Regions from separate parts of the Homo sapiens genome. Here regions 1 and 2 are each linked to region 3. The links are contacts of gene promoters, found by promoter capture Hi-C in blood cells and fetal thymus (Javierre and others, 2016). All regions are on one chromosome and are shown on one strand. Each heading gives the region's core, a stretch centred on a gene start or on the middle of the fragment in contact. The rest is flanking DNA. Distances are from core to core; before and after follow the strand shown. Region 1 holds the start of SNRNP35 (small nuclear ribonucleoprotein U11/U12 subunit 35). Region 2 holds the start of RILPL2 (Rab interacting lysosomal protein like 2). Region 3 holds the start of RILPL1 (Rab interacting lysosomal protein like 1).

Region 1 (4,133 bases), core at 248-2,747, 76 kb before region 3:
CCATGAACTACGTTCATTCATGATGTTGTAGCAATTAGAATTTCATTTCTTTTTAAGGAGAAATAGTATTCCATTGCATGTACTGTACATACCACGTGTGTGTGTGTGTGTGTGTGTGTGTGTGTGTGTGTGTGTGTGTGTGTGTGTTTAAAAGCATAGGGGTCAGCCAGGTGTGGTGGCTCACGCCTGTAATCCCAGCACTTTGGGAGGCCAAGGCAGGCAGATCACTTGAGATCGGGAGTTCAAGACCAGCCTGACCAACATGGAGAAACCCCATCTCTACTAAAAATACAAAATTAGCCGGGCATGGTGGCACATGCCTGTAATCCCAGCTACTCGGAAGGCTGTCAGGAGAATTGCTTGAACCTGGGAGGCGGAGGTTGCGGTCAGCCGAGATCGTGCCATTGCACTCCAATATGGGCAACAAGAGTGAAACTCTGTCTCAAACAAAACAAAACAAAAACAAACAAACAAACAACAACATAGGGGTCTTGCTCTGTTGCCCAGGCTGACAGGCTGAACTTGAACTCCTGGCCTCAAGCCTCACGACTCAGCCTCCCTAGTAGCTGAAACTGCAGATGGCCTCCACTGACAGTGGCTACCATATATTTTCAAACATAAAATTTTAAGCTATAGATTTTTCTTTTTTTTGAGACGGACTTTCACTCTTGTTGTTCAGGCTGGAGTGCAATGGCACCATCTCAGTTCATCGAAACCTCTGCCTCCCGGGTTCAAGTGATTCTCCTGCCTCAGCCTCCTGAGTGGCTGGGATTACAGGCACATGACACCATGTCCAGCTAATTTTGTATTTTTAGTAGAGAAGGGGTTTCTCCATGTTGCTCAGGCTGGTCTCGAACTCCGAACCTCAGGTGATCCGCCCGCCTCGGCCTCCCGAAGTGCTGGGATTACAGGCGTGAGGCATGCCACCTGGCCTTTTTTTTTTTTTTTTTTTTTATAAAGAAATTGGGGCCGGGCGCGATGGCTCACGCCTGTAATCCCAGCACTTTGGGAGGCCGAGGCGGGCGGATCACTTGAGGTCAGAAGTTCGAGACCAGCCTGGCCAACATGGCAAAACCCTGTCTCTACTAAAAATACAAAAAATAGCCGGGCGTGGTGGCGGGCGCCAGTAATCCCAGCTACGCGGGAGGCTGAGGCAGGAAAATCACTTGAACCCGGGAGGCGGAGGTTGCAGTGAGCCGAGTTCGCACCACTGCACTCCAGCCTGGGCGACAGAGGGAGTCTCCGTCTCAAGAAAAAATAATAAATAAGAATAAATAAATAATAAAGTAAAATGTCCCAGGTAACTGCATATTCGATAGTCTTTCTTTCAACTTAGTTGTTGAATTAGCAATTTTTCTCTTAAAAAAATTTTTTTTTAGCTTATTGTCTTCGGAGATGATAACACCCTCGTTGCGTGGGAGTAAAATTTTAAAGGTAAAACAAACAGGAAACGAGCGTCGGCGGCGAATCTGCTGCTACCAATGTAAAGGTCAGGCCGAGGCCGGCGCGGAGAATCTGCTGTCGCCTGCAGCTGCTCGCCTGTCTCCGTCGGAAGGGAGCCCAAGCTTTGCAGAGGTGAGTGGAAGCGGCTTGGAAGGAGCGGGCCCCACGCCGGAGAGAAGGAAGAGGGAGTGCGGCCCAGACGCTGTGCCCGCGCTTGTGTGGGGCGCCATGTTGAAACCTGGCAAAGGGGACGACATTCTGGGTTGCGTTGCGGGGAGTGGGGACGAGAGCTGGATTGGAAGGATGGCGCCTTACTCCCTGCGGCCCCCAGAGAAGGAGAGGGGCGGGGGAGCGGCCTCGAGGGTTGGCGGCCAGGCTGCAGGCTGGATGGGAAGGATAGGCTTTTCCACAGAAACTTAGGTGTTTGCCTCCGAGGCCCACTGCGCATGCCCTGGAGGGCTCTGTGGGTTCCGCCTTCAGTTTTGCTTTTCACAGGAGGGGCAAAGTCTTTTTTTTTTTTTTTTCCTTTTTGAGACAGTCTTGCTCTGTCGCCCGGGCTGGAGTGCAGTGGTGCGATCTCGGTTCACTGCAACCTCCGCCTCCTGGGTTCAAGCGATTCCACTGCCTCAGCTTCCCGAGTAGCTGAGACTACAGGCGCCCGCCACCACGCCCTGCTAATTTTTTGTATTTTACTGGAGACGGGGTTTCACCATGTTAGCCAGGATGGTCTCGATCTCCTGTCCTCGTGATCCACCCGCCTCGGCCTCCCAAAGTGCTGGGATTACAGCCGTCAGCCACCGTGCCCGGCCAGGAGGGGCAGAGTCTTACCCCGAAGACCCAGGAAGGAGAGGCTTCATTTATTTTTTTGTTTTTCCCCAGAGACAGGGAGTCGCCCAGGCTGGAGAGCGGTGGCGCGATCTCGGCTCACTGCAGCGTCGACATTTCGGGTCAAGCAGTCCTCCCGCCTCAGCCTCTCAAGTATCTGGGACCACAGGCGCGACCCCACGCCCGGAGAATTGATTATTGATTGATTGATTGAAACGGGGTCTCACTTTGTTGCCCAGGCTGGTCTCGAATTTCTGGGCTCAAGCGATCCTCCAGCCTCGGCCTCTCAAAGTGCTGGTATTACAGGCGTGAGCCAGCGCGTGCCTGGCCAAAAATTTTCTAAATTTGTATAATAATTTATAATTGTAATGCATTTTTATAGACACCATATGATCTAATCTTCACAAAAACCTAGTGAAGTGACATTTAGCTACATTTCACAATAAGAATCCTGAAGCTCAAAATTTACTGACCTCAAATAATCCACCCGCCTTGGCCTCCCAAAGTGCTGGGATTACAGGCATGAGCCACCGCGCCCTGGCCCCCACCATTCATTTCGGCTCTCATCCCCTGTTGATGAGTAAAATGAGAATGAGGCCCAGGCGCGGTGGTTCACGCCTGTAATCCCAGCACTTTGGGAGGCTGAGGCAGGCGGGTCATCTGACATCAGGAGTTTGAGACCAGCTTGGCCAACATGGTGAAATCCTGTCTGTACTAAAAATGCAAAAATTAGCTGGGCGTGGTGGTGTGTGTCTGTAATCCCAGCTACTCGGGAGGCTGAGGCAGGAGAATCACTTGAACCTGGGAGGCAGAGGTTGCAGTGAGCCGAGATTGGCCATTGCACTCCAGCCTGGGTGACAGAGTGAGACTTTGTCTCGAGTAAAAAAAGAGAATGTAAAAATCGAAAGAGATTGTTGTAGGAAATCTCAACCTAATGCTGCCGGGGAGGAAGTGCACCTAGAAAGATTAATGAGAAACAATGAAACCAGCTGTTAGTATCTATAGAAGCATGCAGATGAGAGAGAGAACAAAATCCATGCTTATCCGTTTGTAATTCTCCTCCATTTTAATTTGAAGAAGTCTTAAAGTTTTGAACAGGAGCTCTGTGTACAATAATATCAGTTTTATTTGGTAGATCCTTGTGACTCCTGACTTCAAATGATCCGCTCATCTTGGCCTCCTCAAGTGCTAGGATTGCTGGCGTGAGCCACTGCACCGGGCCCCTTGTGACTTTTTAACGTTGAATGGGGAGGGGTTCTTTTCCTTCAGGAGAGGAGGGGTGGGTCTCAGCCTCAGACACCCAGAATACTGGTTTGTGTGTTTTCTTTTTCCTATCTTTATCTCCAAAACCTTATATTTTATGAAAAGCATCAGAGGAAACGATTAAGAGCTTTAGCTCTGGAGTCCACACTGCCCCTGGTTCTAACTCCTCCACTGGGCTACTTCTTAGCTTTAGGATTTGGGGCACAGGCTGCCTTTTTGTGTCTGACCTTTTTCATCTGAAAAGGCAATAATAATATAGTACCTAAGTCCTGGTATTGTTGAGAAGTGAGAGGAGTTAAGAGGTTAGTACAGGCTGGGTTCGCTGGCTCACATGTGTAATCCCAGCACTTTGGGAGGCTGAGGCAGAAGGATAGCTCATGCCCAGGAGTTCAAGATCAGCCTATGCAATATAGTGAGACCCCATCTCTACAAAAAAAAAAAAAAAAAAAAAAGCTGGGTATGGTGGCGCATAGTGAGTAATTCCAGGTACTCAGGAGGCTAGGGTGGGAGAGGCTGCAGTGAGCCATGACTGTGCCACTGTACTCCAGTCTGGGCAACAGAGCAAGACCCTGTCTCAAAAAAAATTCAAGCGATTCTCCTGC
Region 2 (4,671 bases), core at 86-2,585, 97 kb before region 3:
AGAGTGTTTCCAGTTTGGCAGCTGAGACTAAAGCTGCTCTGAATCTTCTTGTCTATGTCTTTTTGTGGTCATATGCACTAATTTCTCTTTAGGTAAAATGTGTTTCTTGTCCAAGTGTGGTGGCTCACATCCACAAGCCCAGCACTTTGGGAGGCCAAGGTGGGAGGATTCCTTGAGCTTAGGAGTTTGAGACCAGCCTGGGTAACGGTGAGACCCCCATCTCTACAAAACATCAAAAAAGTTAGCCAGGCATGGTGGCACATGCCTGTACTCCCAGCTACTTGGAAGGGCAAGGCAGGAGAATTGCTTGAGCCTAGGAGGCCAAGGCTGTAGTGAGCCGTGTTTGCACCACTGCACTCTAGCCTGGGAGATAGAGCAGGACCCTGTGTCAAAAGAAAAAAAAAGTGTTTCTTGCTCTAGGTCAAAGGTTCTCAAACTGTGGACCCTGGGCCAATAGCATCAGCATTAACTGCGAACTCGTTAGAAATACAGATTCTGGCCAGGCAGGGTGGCTCACACCTGTAAACCCAGCACTCTAGGAGGCTGAGGCTGGGGGATCACTTGGAGCCAGGAGTTTGAGACCAGCCTGGGCAACACAGCGAGATCCCATCTCTTAAAAAAAGAAAAAAGAGAAAAGAGAAGAGAAAAGAAAAGGAAGGCGTCTCCCTGCCAGTAGGTGCCCTCCTACGCCCCGCAGGCGCCGTGGGCCCGGAACCCTCGCTCCCACACTCACCTCCCCGCTGGCCGGAGGGCTCTGTCTCCGCAGCCCCTCCACCTCCTTCCTGAGGTGGTCCCTCTCCATCTTCAGCTCCTCCAGCGCCAGGCTGCCCTCATTCACCAGCGCCTCCAGCATCTCCAGGACGCGGACGACTTTGAACTGCAGCTGCGTCACCCGGGGGTCGCTGCCCAGGGCCATAAGCTCGCGGCCCAACAGGTAGGAGATGTCATACACGTCCTCGGCGGTCAGCTGGAAGGGGCTCTTGCCCAGCGCCCCCTCGGGCCCAACCTCGTCCCTCTCCTCGTCCTCCTCTCCCTCCTCCTCTTCCTCTTCTCGCACAGGGGGCTCCTCCATGGCCACCCAGACCCCCGCCGACCTCGGAGCTGCTGTCTTGGAGTCTCCCAAAGGTTAGACTTCCTCCCGGCACCCAAAACTTTCCGCTGGGCAGAGTCCCTACCTGCCCAATCAGCGCGGCCCGGGGGTGGGCCCGGGGGGATGGTGCAAGGGGCCGCGCACGCGACTCTTGGGCCTGCGCCCCGGCGCACCGTCCCCGCTGCCAGCCACGCTGGAGAGTGCGCTCCAGGATGTGGTTTGGGGCGCGAAGGGACAACGGAAAAGGAGGCAGCCGAGAAGAGGAACGGGGAAGTTCAGGGGTGACGGCAATCGCCCCAGCCTGGGAACAGTTGCAGCCCCGGGGAGGAGCCGCCCTGAGCCCCGCCCCTGGCGACCGCTGCCAGGAGGTGCGTTTCCGTGGAGACGGAGTTTCCACCGTGCAATCCAGAGCGGGGTAAAAAGAACGCAACTTTTTCCTTTCCACCCTCGTGCTTTCCAGCCGTAGAATTTGCATCGTAGGTGATGGAAGATCCGGGTGTCTCTTTGAGGGTGTTTTCTGGAGCCTGCGGCCAAACAGAAAGCAGCTGCTGGGGGCAGCGCGACAGAGTCCCCGAGGCTTGAGGATCTGGAAAACTCCCAGGCAAATTGTCACTAGGGCCTGGGGCGTCCGACTTCGCTGTGACTCTCAATAAAATGGAGAATGTCTGCCCTGCTCACTTCGCTGGGTCCTCGGCTCCTCCACGTAACCAGCGCTGTCACCTTGGCAAGTTACTTAACGTCTCCGAGCCTCAGTCTCCTCCTCTGTAAAATGGGGACAATAGCGGGACCCAGGTGGCAGGGTTGCTGCGAGGAACATGAGCTTATGAGATCATGTGTGCGACACCTCAAGCACTTAGGAAGCACTCACATACGTGACTGCAATCCTTCATTCTTTCTTTCTTTCTTTCTTTCTTTTTTTTTTTGAGACGGAGTCTCCCTGTGTCGCCCAGGCTGGAGTGCAGTGGCGCGATCTCGGCTTGCTGCAAGCTCCGCCTCCCAGGTTCACGCCATTCTCCTGCCTCAGCCTCCCGAGTAGCTGGGACTACAGGCACGCGCCACCACGCCCGGCTAATTTTTTTGTATTTTTAGTAGAGACGGGGTTTCACCATGTTCGCCAGGATGGTCTCGATCTCCTGACCTCGTGATCCACCTGCCTCGGCCTCCCAAAGTGCTGGGATTACAGGCGTGAGCCACCGCGCCCGGCCCCTTCATTCTTTCTTCCACAGCGCTAGGGAGGAATTGCTGGTGTTGGAGACACCTTGCTACTTGGGTGAGAGAAGGAGGAGTAATTAACAAGAGAGAAACCCCTGTCTGAAAATCACAAAGCATTCGACACATATGCGGAATCCATATTACTGAGAATATTAGCAGAGTGGCGTAGAAACTTGAGTCATTCGCTGTGGCTCATGCCTTAATCTCAACACTTCAGGAGGCTGACGCAGGAGGATTGCTTGAGCCCAGGAATTTGAGACTAGCTTGGGCATCATAGTGAGACCCTGTCTCTACAAAAAGTAAACAAAAGTAGCTGGACACAGTGGTTCATGCCTGTAGTGGCAGGTACTCGGGAGGCTGAGGTGGGAGGACCACTTGAGCCCGGGATGTTGAGGCTGCAGTGAGCCAAGATCTCACCACAGAGTGGTGCCTGTGACAGAGTGGGACCATGGTGACAGAGTAAGATCATGTCTCAAAAAAAAAGGCACAACAAATCTCAAGTTATTTTAGGTTTCACTGGAGGTTTGTGATAGTCTCAGGCAGAAAGCTCAGCAACGGGGCTTGTCTTTCCCAGGAATGTATTGGCAGCTTTCCTTGTGATAGGTGTATCCATTTTCTCCACACTGAGGTACTAGAATCTCAATGGAGAATGTACATAGATTAAACCAACCAACAAAAGCAAAGCAAATTAACAAAACACACTATTTTCAGAGGGTCGTTTCTTTTTATTTTATTTTATTTTATTTTATTTATTTGTTTATTTATTTATTTAGAGACAGAATCTTGCTCTGTTGCCCAGGCTGGAGCTCAGTGGCATGATCTCGGCTCACCGCAACCTCCGCCTCCCTGGTTAAAGCAATTCTTCTACCTCAGCCTCCCCAGTAGCTGGGACCACAGGCGCATGCCGCCCCGCCTGGCTAATTTTTTGTATTTTAGTAGAGATGGGGTTTCACTGTGCTGCCCAGGCTGGTCGCGAACTCCTGAGCTCGGGCAATCCTCCCACCTGGGCCTCCCAAAGTGCTAGGATTACGGGCGTAAGCCACCCTGCCTGGCCTATTTTACTTTTATAAAATAAAAAAGTCAGGCCGAGATGGGCGGATCACGAGGTCAGGAGACCGAGACCATCCTGGCTAACACGGTGAAACCCTGTCTCTACTAAAAATACAAAAAAAATTAGCCGGGTGTAGTGGCGGGCGCCTGTAGTCCCAGCTACTCGGGAGGCTGAGGCAGGAGAATGGCGTGAACCCGGGGACAGAGCTTGCAGTGAGCCGAGATCGCGCCACTGCACTCCAGCCTGGGCAACAGAGCAAGACTCGGTCTCAAAAAAAATAAATAAAAATAAATAAATAAATAAATAATAAATAATAAAAAAATAAAATAAATAAAAAAGCCTCACTCTGTTGCCTAGGTTGGAGTGCAGTGACACGATCTCGGCTCACTGCAACCTCTGCCTTCCAGGTTCAAGCGATTCTCCTGCCTCAGCAGCCCCACCCCGAGTAGCTGGGATTACAGGCACGCGCCACCATGCATGGCTAATTTTTTGTATTTTTAGTAGAGACGGGATTTTACCATGTTGCCCAGGCTGGTCTCCAACTCCTGACCTCAGGATGATCCACCTGCCTCAGCCTCCCAAAGTGCTGGGATTACAGGCATGAGCCACCATGCTTAGCCTTTCTTCTTCTTCTTTTTTTTTTTTTTTGAGATGGAGTTTTGCTCTTGTAGCCCAGGCTGGAGTGCAGTGGCATGATCTCTGCTCATTGCAACCTCTGCCTCCTGGGTTCAAGCGATTCTCCTGCCTCAGCCTTGCAAGTAGCTGGGATTATAGGCGCCCACCACCACACCCAGCTAAGTTTTGTATTTTTAGTAGAGACAGGGTTTCACCCTGTTGGCCAGGATGGTCTCCAACTCCTGACCTCAGGTGATCTGCCCGCCTCTCCCTCCCAAAGTGCTGGGATTACAGGCATGAGCCCAGCCTATTTTTTCTTAAGAGATGAGGCTTTGCTCTGTCACCCCAGCTGGAGTGCAGTGGCATGATCACAGCTCACTGCAGCCTTGAACTCCTGGGCTTAAGTGATCCTCCCACCTCAGCCTCCTGAGTAGCTGGGCCTACAGGTGCTTGCCACCATACCTGGCTAATTTTTTTTTTTTTTTTTTTTTTTTTGAGACAGAGTCTTGCTCTGTTGCCCAGGCTGGAGTGCAGTGGTGCAATCTCGGCTCACTGCAAGCTCCGCCTCCCGGGTTCATGCCATTCTCCTGCCTCAGCCTCCGAAGTAGCTGGGACTACAGGCGCCCGCCACCACGCCCGGCTAATTTTTTGTATGTTTTAGTAGAGACAGGGTTTCACCATGTTAGCCAGGATGGTCTCGATC
Region 3 (4,619 bases), core at 1,662-4,161:
CTGTGCTCGCTATGGCCTGTCATCAGAGTTGCAGACTGAGTAATGAGACAGAACATGACACAACTGTGGCCTGCATCTGAGTGATGAGTGGAAGTGAGTGAGTGGGTCTACTGAGAGGAGGAGTAGGGGGAAGAAAGTGTATGTCCTTTACTGGAGCCATAATTGCTGAAAGCGAGAGAGACAAGGAAGAAGGGGTAGGGAAGAAGAGGGGAAAGGGAAGAGGAATGGAGGTGGACAGACTAAACCAGGACATGCCAAAAACATTTTTGTGGAAATATCACCTTGAAGAGCCTTTGAGACTCTGCAGGAAAAAAAAAAAAAAATCATACAAGTCTCTCTCCATCCCAAGAATGTGAAGTAAACGGGTCTGGGGCTGGGGTGGGAAAAGAATTGCATCCTTGATTTAGAGAGGTCATCCTCAATGTAAGTCAACAAGCCCTGGCCCTGAGCGCACGGTGTTCACTTCCCAGCTGAACACTTTCCAGAGGCAACAAGTGCAGCTGCTGACAATTCCATGTGACTTCAGACCTGGTGGCCTCCGATGGCTTCCAAGGATTTCTCCCAGCTCCCCCGCAACAGAACTAAAGAGCCCCAGTTGGGGGACAGTATAGGTGCCAGGACTTCTGTGTGATCTGGTCAAAGCCCCTTGGTCCCTGTTAATAAGAGGCGCCACACGAGAGAATTTCCAAGGTCCCTTGCCTCCTTGACCCTCTATGAGAGATGGAGGCCTCTAGGGTAGGAGTAGAGGTGCTTGGGGTGGGGACGGTTTCCTAATATGAGCCTGTGAGCACCTCAATGAATGTCTCTCCAGGCCTAAAAAGAATTTTAAGACTTGCAAAGCCCTTGCTATGGGCAGGCTCTGTCCTGAACACTTTATATGTATTTATATTAACTCTTTAAACCTCATCACATTCTAATGGGGGTACTATTACTATCCCATTTTAGAACTGAGGAAACTGAAGCACAGAGATGCTGGGTGATTTGCCCAAGATCACACAGCCTGCAAGTGGTAGGGTTTGAAACCAGGCTGTCTAGCTCCAAAGTCCTAGCTTCTAGGAGTCTTGAAATTAATTACAGGTCAAAGCATTTTCAGGCTCCCAGAGTGACCTCGGAAATGCTGCTCAACTCTTGGGAGCCTGAGTTTCCTTCCTGCCCCTAGGGCATAGGGACCCATGAGGACGAGCACAGTCAAACATGGCAATGGTGCTGTTACCTACCTGTGGGTCTGCCCTCAGGTAAAGGGTTCAGACCCAGCTTTGGCTATTTTACTCCAAAACACAGAGATCCATCAAAGTACACAATAAGGGATGGCCTGCCCCTGAGGTTCAGAGAGGCCATCTGTATTTCCTGAGGCTGAACAGCAAGCTGGAGACTGCTCAGGCACCCTGATCCCTCAAGGAAAGGTGTTTCCTCCCATTCTCAGTCTGAAGGGGCTGCCAAGAGCATCCCTGGCTGAGGTTAGGGCAGGAAACCACATGTCTTTCACTTCCTTTTCTCCAGAAACCTCGTCTGAACTCCAGGCCCAGTGGGGAGGCCCTGATTCAGAGAGACTCCTGATCACAGGGCAGAGGCTTAGCCTTAAAGCCACCCCAAATCATCCCTTTCCCCCAATTCAAACAGGGTGGGGAGGAGACACGGGGGCTGGGACTCTCTCACCACTAATTTGGGACAAATTGCTCCTCCCACTGTGACCCTCGGTTTCTTTATCTGTAAAATGAAGATAGTCTCTATAGAGTCCTGTGAGGATTAAGGATAAAATCAGAGGAGAGAACACGGGCTACCACAGGTTCATAAGCTAGGGGAGTCCCGGGAAGAAAGTTGCAAATATGAACCCGAAGACTAGGGGTCACGAAGCTCAGTGGCTGGAGGTCACATTCCCTTTGCTCTGGGGAGACTGGGGGGGGGGGGGATGAAGAAAGGGTCCTGGGCCTGATGTCACATCTTCTTGGTAACTCGGGAGGCCAAGAGGCTTATTTCATGTCTGGAAGAGAATAATATGTCTAAGCACTTAGCTTATATGGTCCCATTTAATTCTTCTAAGGTGGGTCCTATTATGATTACCATTTGACAGGTGAGGAAATAAAGCACAGAGAGGTTAAGTAACTTACCTAAAGTCACACAGCTATTAAACGGTAAAGGTGGGATTGGAACTCCAGAGAACAGCTCTTAATCTCTCGGGTGGTATCTGCCAGCCACCCCTGGTCGGGCAAAAGAAGGCCAGGGCCTCCCTCCCTCCCCACGTCGGGTCTCCTCTGGTCCGGTCCCTGAACACACACACGTGCGCACCCACAGCTGCCCAATGCGGAAGAGCCCTTGGGTCCCCGCGGTCCCACTGCCCGGACGGACAGACCGAGGCCGCCGCCCACCTTCTGGTGCTTGCGCTCCTTCTCGATGCGGTCCATCCTCTCCAGGCGCAGGCGGTCCAGCTCCAGGCGCAGCTCGTCCAGCTCGGGCGCGACGTGGTGGCGGCTGACCAGCACCTCCAGGATCTCCAGGACGCGCACGACCTTGGGCATGAGGCGCGCGATGGCCTCGCAGCCGTGCTGGTCAATGACCCGCTCGAACTCGTGGCCCACAAGCGACGCGATGTCGTACACGTCCATGACGGTCAGCTCGGCCACGTTCTTCTCCAGCGCCGACTCGGCCGCCAGCGCCGACCCCCGCTCCTCCTCCATGGCCACCCTCCTGGCCTGTCCCCCGCCCCGCAAACTCGTGCAACTCCCAAACTTGCCGCTGTCGAGGGCCGGGCCGGCCGGGCCCAGCCTGGGCCGCGGGCGGGCGCGCTCAGCGGGCGCTGGGGCGAGGGCGCAGCGGGCAGCGGGCGGCGGGCGCGGGCGCGGGCACGGGCGGCGGCGCGGGGTGTGCGGGCCCGGGGTCTGGGCGCCCGGCTCGGCCCGGAGCTGCTCCCGAGTGGGCGGCGGCGGCGGCGGCGGCGGCGGCGGCAGCGGGGAGGGCGCGCGCGTGCGCAGGCCCGCGGCGCCTCCCAAGTTGGGATCCGAGTTGCGCTCAATGGAGCCGGGCCGGGCGCCTCGGGGCGGTGCGGGCCTGAGGGGCGGCAGAGCGCGGGGCCGGAGAGGAAGGGCGGCCCGCGGCTCCTCCGGGAAACTTTGGCGGCGGCGGCTGCGAGGCCGGGTGATCGCTTCCCCACAGGGAGGCCGCGCGCCCCGCCCCAATCCCGGCCTGGCCAGGGGCGCGCCCGCTTTCCGCCGCCCGGGGGCGCCCCGGGGTACCCCCCCAAGCGCCGACTCCGCGGCCTGCACTCCGGGCCCCCCTCTCCAGCCGCCGGACCCGCGGCGCCCCTCACCCGTGCCCCGGCCGCCCCTCCCCCGCCCGGCGCTGACTCCTCCCACCACCCGGCCGCCGGGAGGGGTCCAGGCCGCCCCGGGAGAGGGGGCCGGGGGCGCTGGTCTCGCGGGACGATTCGCTGCTCCGGGTAGCGGCCCCGGCCTTGGAGAGGGATGGAGGGGTCACGAGGAGGTCCCCGGGCTGGGGCTCATCCCAGGAAGAGAACGGGGACCCCCCCCGGCCCGCAGACACTCCGCGCAGACCCGGCCACCAGGCGGACTTGCAGAGGCGCCCGGAGAGGGGCCGACGTGTCGAGGAATGCTGGATCCCCGGAGCCCCAGGGCGCGCCTCCCCGAGCCACATCCATCACTGGCTCCTTGTGACATGAACGCCACTTCACAGTAGAGCGAAGCCCGCTTGGCATTCCAGCACCACGAGTTCTCTTGTCCCAAGGCCCCCTGTCCATTTGGGCTGGCCAAATCCACTTGTCCATCAGACCCCCTCCCACTCCCGGGAGAACGTTTCCTGAACCCAGAACCCCATCCACCCTCCCCGCCCCCCACGCAGGAGTTAAGGACCCCCTTGCAAACTCACAGTCCCCTGCTTGCCCCATCAGGATTGCTCTTAGCATCCTGAGTTTTCACCGTGTGGTTGCAGGTAGGTTTCCACCGTCAGATCTTGGCTCCTTGAGGGAAGAAATCTTAATGCCCTTGTAGCCATAAAGCGCACCCCAACGTGGCACGTATTGATTAAAAATCTAAAAGTTGGCCGGGCGCGGTGGCTCACGCCTGTAATCCCAGCACTTTGGGAGACTGAGGTGGACGAGGTCAGGAGTTCAAGACCAGCCTAGCCAAGGTGGTGAAACCCCGTCTCTACTAAAAATACAAAAATTAGCCGGGCATGGTGGCGCATGCCTGTAATCCCAGCTACTCAGGAGGCTGAGGCAGAGAGTTGCTTAAACCCGGGAGGCGGAGGTTGCAGCAAGCCGAAATCGCGCCACTGCACTGCAGGCTGGGTGACAGAGCAAGACTCCATCTCAAAATAATAATATAATACAATAAATAAATAAATAAATAGTAAAAAAAAAAAAATTAAGGCCAGGCGGGGTGGCTCACGCCTGTAATCCCAGCACTTTGGGAGGCCGAGGTGGGAAAATTTCTAGAGCTCAGGAGTTCGAGACCAGCCTGGCCAACATGGTGAAACCACGCCTCTACTAAAAATACAAAAATTAGCCAGACATGGTGGCATGTGCCTGTAATCCCAGCTACTCAAGAGGCTGAGGCGCGAGAATCATTTGAGCCTGGGAGGCAGAGGTTGCAGTGAGCCAAGATCGT

The links. The method cuts DNA at HindIII sites, captures the fragments that hold promoters and counts their contacts. A CHiCAGO score of 5 or more calls a contact.
Region 1: a contact is called between the fragment with the promoter of SNRNP35 here and the fragment with the promoter of RILPL1 in region 3, in 1 of 17 cell types (total CD4 T cells). The highest score is 5.6, in total CD4 T cells.
Region 2: a contact is called between the fragment with the promoter of RILPL2 here and the fragment with the promoter of RILPL1 in region 3, in 1 of 17 cell types (total CD4 T cells). The highest score is 5.3, in total CD4 T cells.

The regions. Positions count from the first base shown.
Region 1 is chr12:123,456,642-123,460,774 of GRCh38, forward strand. It overlaps SNRNP35 (small nuclear ribonucleoprotein U11/U12 subunit 35), which reads left to right and starts at 1,498. Exons shown (of 2, transcript NM_022717.4): 1 at 1,498-1,575. RefSeq lists enhancers at 1,185-2,051, 1,726-1,805, 2,052-2,917. The HindIII fragment of the contact is 10,721 bases long and covers 1-1,563 here.
Region 2 is chr12:123,435,349-123,440,019 of GRCh38, forward strand. RILPL2 (Rab interacting lysosomal protein like 2) reads right to left here and starts at 1,336. Exons shown (of 4, transcript NM_145058.3): 1 at 734-1,336. The coding sequence starts at 1,072. RefSeq lists an enhancer at 312-1,241 and a silencer at 1,083-1,342. The HindIII fragment of the contact is 15,954 bases long and covers 1-4,671 here.
Region 3 is chr12:123,530,808-123,535,426 of GRCh38, forward strand. RILPL1 (Rab interacting lysosomal protein like 1) reads right to left here and starts at 2,912. Exons shown (of 7, transcript NM_178314.5): 1 at 2,367-2,912. The coding sequence starts at 2,675. RefSeq lists an enhancer at 1,913-2,730 and silencers at 2,946-3,635, 3,655-3,840. The HindIII fragment of the contact is 17,367 bases long and covers 1-4,619 here.